Regions from separate parts of the Homo sapiens genome. Here region 1 is linked to region 2. The links are contacts of gene promoters, found by promoter capture Hi-C in blood cells and fetal thymus (Javierre and others, 2016). All regions are on one chromosome and are shown on one strand. Each heading gives the region's core, a stretch centred on a gene start or on the middle of the fragment in contact. The rest is flanking DNA. Distances are from core to core; before and after follow the strand shown.

Region 1 (2,943 bases), core at 361-2,860, 660 kb before region 2:
GTAGGCTGGATGGATGTGTGTGACCACCATCCAGCCCACTCTAATATGTATCCCAGGTGTAAATGCTCCAGGGAGTCTCCTCCCTGTCAGACAATATGCCCTGTGGTAAGGGACCATGTGTAATAACCCTGCTAAGTGTTTTCAGTGGCTACCTAGCACAGTTAGCCAAACACATCCTCACAATAGCTACAATTTATTGAATGCTTACTAATTCTTACAACACTACATGAGACAAATATTGTGATCATTGTTCAGATGAGAAAACTGAGGCTCAGACAGATTAATGTGCCCAAGACATCACAATTAGTAACTGCAAAGCTAAGTAAATTCACACTCAGGTGTGCCTAATCCAAAAACCTGTTTTTCCTATAATCTAGAGTCTAGACAATCTATAAATGTGTGGGATGAAAGAAAAGGAAGAATTATTCATGATGGTAGAGGGATTCAGAGAAGACTTGGGGGCCCAGAAAAAGAACTCGGGGAAACACTGGGGAGCCCAGGTGAGGGATGAGATGGGGATCTCACCGAAGAAGCAGTAGACGACTCCAAACAAACAGCACATGATGCAGACGAGGGCCGGCAGTGCCTGGTACCTGCGCTCCAGGGGCTGTTCACAAGGTGCACCCCAGAAGGCATCATCTGGCTCAGGGGGCAGCAGCTGGAACCGCAGTGTTGCCACAGTCCCCGGCATAGTGCTGGGAATAGAAGGGAGTCACCCTCCCAAGTTAACCTGACAGAGGGAAAGTTGGGGTCACGGAGGAGTCCTGGGTCCCCACCAGGATGGGGGTGGGAGAGGGATTGGGAGAACTCAGCAAGGACAGTGGACAAAGGAATAGTATCCACATTTGTGCAGCTCCGGAAGCATCTCTGGAGTGGGGAGCAAAGACAAAGGGAAACAAAAGTGCCTGGCTAGTGGAGGCTGGGATGAAGTTAAAAGAGGGACGGGAGTCGGGGGGATGAAGGGAGCGTGCTGCCAGTGAGAAGGAGGCAGCCAAGAGATTCATCTGTGGGCGGCTCAATATGGGATTGTCCAAGATTTACCTGGGCTGGAGGCGACCTGAGCTTCTGAGTGAAAGAGGCTGTGCAGAGGCCCGAGGGGCCGGGGTTGCGGGGCGCCAGAGGCTCCAACTGACTGGGGTCCAGGGAAAGTCCGTCGTGCGAGGAAGGGGGCTGCTGGGCCGGAGAGAATGGTGTCGGCGCGGTGGCGGCGCCGCTCCACGTCCAACACCGGCTGGCACTCCAGTCCCGCGGCGTCCGGGAACTCGGGCTGGGCCTGAGGAAGGGGAAGGCGCAGGAGCCGGGGCTCGGGCCGCCCCAGAACCGCGGCCCCATGCCCTGAGCCCGCCCGCGGCCTTTGGTGCTGATGGACAGCTCCGGCCTCTGCTCCTGACGTCACTCAGGGCGCACCATCCAGGCAGGGGCGGGCTGCTTCTGACGTCACATGGGACGCACCAACCACGCCGCGGGAGGCAGGGGACTCCGCCCCCGGCGTCTCCCTCTCCCGCACTGAGGAGGGGGCACTTCCGGGGGTCCTTCCCCTTTAACCTCCCCCTTCTCCTCCCTCTCCGGTAGCGAGAGCCCGAGACCCCACCCCGGGGGCGGGGCCCTTGCAGTGACACGTCGGACAGCTGCGGCCGCGGCTGAGGCTCCAGTGCCGAGCGCAAGAACCCTGCGCAGCCCAGAGCAGCTGCTGGAGGGGAATCGAGGCGCGGCTCCGGGGATTCGGCTCGGGCCGCTGGCTCTGCTCTGCGGGGAGGGAGCGGGCCCGCCCGCGGGGCCCGAGCCCTCCGGATCCGCCCCCTCCCCGGTCCCGCCCCCTCGGAGACTCCTCTGGCTGCTCTGGGGGTTCGCCGGGGCCGGGGACCCGCGGTCCGGGCGCCATGCGGGCATCGCTGCTGCTGTCGGTGCTGCGGCCCGCAGGGCCCGTGGCCGTGGGCATCTCCCTGGGCTTCACCCTGAGCCTGCTCAGCGTCACCTGGGTGGAGGAGCCGTGCGGCCCAGGCCCGCCCCAACCTGGAGACTCTGAGCTGCCGCCGCGCGGCAACACCAACGCGGCGCGCCGGCCCAACTCGGTGCAGCCCGGAGCGGAGCGCGAGAAGCCCGGGGCCGGCGAAGGCGCCGGGGAGAATTGGGAGCCGCGCGTCTTGCCCTACCACCCTGCACAGCCCGGCCAGGCCGCCAAAAAGGCCGTCAGGTAGTGATCGGCTGCGCCCGCTCTACCCCCTGGGCAGCGGCCGGGAAGCGCGCGGGGAGGTCGCCCGGGCCCGGGTCAGGCTCCGGAAGGAAGGGGCTGGCGAGCCAGGAAGTCTTTGGGCCCCGATAACTTCCGATGGCCCTGCCTTCCCGAGAGCCGTGGGGCCAGTCCGAGACTTTCTCTGGGCCCTATCCCGGCCTGGGCTGAACTTACTGGACTGTGTCCTAAACCGGCTCGACCCGATGGCGCCCCAGAGATCCTACTAGCTCCCTGGCTGGGCTGCTGGTGTTAGAGAAATGACTTATATATAGGGTGAGTGTATAGAGACAGGGGAAGAGAAAGGAGAGAACTAGGATTTACCTGGATCTCTTGTTCCTGAGTGGGTTACAAGGGCCACCTCAGGGTGAGATGGGGGAGGGAGGAATGTACCTATCTCATTAATGTCTCTGCTGATGAGTTGAAATAACTTCTAAGTAACATTGGGTTCAAATGCTGGTTCTGCAATTTACCTTCTGCCTTACCAAAAGGTAAGTTCCTAGAGCCCCTGAGTGCAGTTTGCCCCTCCCCGCAAAAACACTCAGTACACCCCTATGCCAAACGTTCCTTTATGTCATTTATGTGAGGCATTTGTGGCATAATGGCATATTTATATAGAAATGAGTAGATACATGGTGTGTCCAGCGTTTGGCTGGGTGCTTTAAACAGATATAATCAGTCCCATTTTACAGATGGCTCAGGTTAAATAACAT
Region 2 (2,730 bases), core at 101-2,600:
CCGGGGGGAGGCGGAGGTCCAGAATGTCATTGGGTGCTGACCTGCAGACATATGGGGTGGAGTGGGTACGTGTTTTGGGGGGACCAGGAGAGCCCCATCTAACAACACACACTCTGTCCCAACGGCCATAATCACTCCCTCTTCCAACCTCTGCTTCTGAAGGTTGGGCCCATCAGTACACTCCTACACATTCCTCTCTCCTTGACCTCCTCACAATCATCCTGCCCAGTGCAACTCACTCAGCTAGCTGCACACCCACACAGGTAAGCGTGCAAATGCACACACATCCACCATGCTTGTGGCCACAGTATTTCCTATGCACATCCCCAGGAATAGATGCCCATACACACAGGGTTCCCCACAAGCCCACTCCCACAGATATGTTTCAGTCACATTCACATAGACACACTTCTGCACACATTGTGGTGGACACACAAACCCAACCCCAGCACACTTACGCACATGCACACTTCATCAGACATAGTTACAGACACACACACAAAGACACTCCCATTTACACATGTGTTCATCTTAACATACATTGACCCATGAGCTCTCACATGCACACATGGGCACACATACAAACTACTGTTTACCAACACAGTTTGCTGGGATCCTGGGCTCGATTGAAAACACACACACACACACACACACACACACAGCTCTTGCAGCTGCAGTCTCTCACTGACCCCACCTGGGCTACCCCCTTCCAGCCTCCCAACCCCTGCCCCTACCTGGGGCTGAGCTGCAGGAAGGAGTGAGGCAGCTTGTGCTTACTCCTGAGGTGGGGGTGCATTCCCCCAACAGGGCAGGAACTCCAGACTGGCACTTGCTCCCCCCCCACACACACCTCCCCTCCTAGTTGCCATCATGCTCCTGGGCACTGCCTTGTCTCCCTGGACTGCCCATATCCTGTCACCAGTCCAACCCCCTCCTATGAGGGAGCTCACTGCCTTTGGTTGGGCACCAGCACTTTCCTATGACCCTGTCCCTCCCTTCTTCCAGGGTCCTCTACCCCAGCAAGAGCATCAGAGGCCCCTGCAGGCCGGGGTCCCAACTCTCTAGGAGGGCGGAGCATGAGGTGAGGGCTCACCTGGGCATGGCAGCAGCCAGCAGCAGTAGGAAGAACAGGAGCACCCAGAGCGCTGGCCGCGGCTGGGGCTGGGGTCGGAGCCGCAGCCAGGGGCGAGGGTGGGCGCTGCCCATGGCGCGCAGGCCCTGACGGGCTGGGAGTGGGGGGCTCACAGCCCAGTGGGACTGGAGAGCCAGGGGCGCCGGCGCATGATCGGCGGGGGGTCGGGGCGGCTGCGACACACAGCTCCGACTCGGGTCAGGGCTCCCGGAGCAGACGGCGCCCGCCTCCCCGCTCCATGGGGCAGCACCCCCGGGCACCGCCCTCGGGGGGGGCGGGGGGTGAAGAGCGGGCGAACCGGGCACCTCCTGGCACAGGGGTCCGGGGAATTTCCCGAGGCCCCCCCGCGACAACTCCCGGTGCCTCTCAAGGGTAAGGGGGGCCCGGAGGTGCAGCGGGCTGGGGACGGGAGGCTGGGGTGCCGGGGAACCCTCCAGCGCAGCGCCGGGAGCCTGCGCTTCCGAGGGCGTGCGAGGCTGGCTGGCGGGGGCGGCGCTGTCTGTGTCGGGCCCCACTGCCTGTAGAGTAAGTGACTGTCCCGGCTCGGGGAGCTCTGCCGCCTTCCCTTTCCTCCCCCCACCCCCCCGCCATTTAGTGTCTCAGGGCTCTACCCCACGTGACGTCACGCGGCGGGGCGTGGAGGCGTGTACGAGTCCCGAGGCCACTGCGTCCGCTGGGGACTGGGGGTGGGAGCGTCCCTGCTGAGGGCAACAGAGGGAAAGGTGTTGGGGTCTGTGCGCGCGTGCACAGGAAGATGCCTGTGTGTGGAGCGCGCTGGGTTGTGTGGGGGATATGTGTTACCGCGAGGTGTGTGTGCCTGGCAGAGACGCAGCTGCTGGGGAGCGCCCCCATCCCACCCCAACACACACACCTGCAGGGGCTGGAGGGGAGGGGCTGGCCTCTGTGTTTCGCCTCCTCCGCCAGAGGAGGGACTTCCCCCAGGCCTGCCTGGTGTGAGGCAGGTGTGGGCTCCTGCAGAGGAGTTTGGCAGCCTCTGGTTTCTTCTCCCCTTTGCTGTGTGACCTTAAACAGGTGCCTCCTGCTCCTGCTCACGGAGACCTCCTCTGCCCCTTTGCGGAATGCGGCTCATGGGGACCACCTTGTCTCCTCAGTGAGCCCGGGGAGGCAGCAGTGTCAGGCCCCCAGAAAATGCTTGCGTAGGAGCGCCCGGGGTGGCACGTCCTGGGAGGAGGCGTTAGAGAGACTTTTAACCCTAGAAGTGGCCGTTGAGATAGTTTATTTAGCTCCCCTTTATTTCACAAGAAAATATCGAGGCTCAAAGAGGTCACACAGCAAATTAGCGGAAGAGCGAGAACCGAACGCAGCTCTCCTGACTCCCAGCGCAGCAGCTGCCTCCCCAACACTGAGTGTTGCCTGCCTGTGCCCGCAGATACTCTCAGTCTTGTCCTGGCCCTCCCTGGCCCCACCTGCACATGGTCCTCTAGGAGGTCCCTAATACCAGCCTCCTGGCTCAGGTCTACTTCTCGCTGAGATCTTCCTGTCCCTCCACCCCAACTGAACACTGGGCCCCTCCTCGATATAGTGCAAGTGTGCTGGGCCCAAGCAAGGGCCTGAGAGCCAGAGGGCAGGGGAAAGGC

What was found. The method cuts DNA at HindIII sites, captures the fragments that hold promoters and counts their contacts. A CHiCAGO score of 5 or more calls a contact.
Region 1: a contact is called between the fragment with the promoter of CHPF here and the fragment with the promoter of WNT10A in region 2, in 1 of 17 cell types (total B cells). The highest score is 5.1, in total B cells.

The regions. Positions count from the first base shown.
Region 1 is chr2:219,542,476-219,545,418 of GRCh38, reverse strand. CHPF (chondroitin polymerizing factor) reads left to right here and starts at 1,610. Exons shown (of 4, transcript NM_024536.6): 1 at 1,610-2,194. The coding sequence starts at 1,881. TMEM198 (transmembrane protein 198) reads right to left here and starts at 1,391. Exons shown (of 5, transcript NM_001005209.3): 1 at 1,042-1,391; 2 at 526-730. The coding sequence starts at 691. RefSeq lists silencers at 1,189-1,328, 1,369-2,078, 2,089-2,178. The HindIII fragment of the contact is 11,388 bases long and covers 1-2,943 here.
Region 2 is chr2:218,879,472-218,882,201 of GRCh38, reverse strand. It overlaps WNT10A (Wnt family member 10A), which reads right to left and starts at 1,350. Exons shown (of 4, transcript NM_025216.3): 1 at 1,094-1,350; 2 at 1-41. The coding sequence starts at 1,206. RefSeq lists silencers at 1,275-1,414, 1,435-1,644, 1,865-1,924. The HindIII fragment of the contact is 9,483 bases long and covers 1-2,730 here.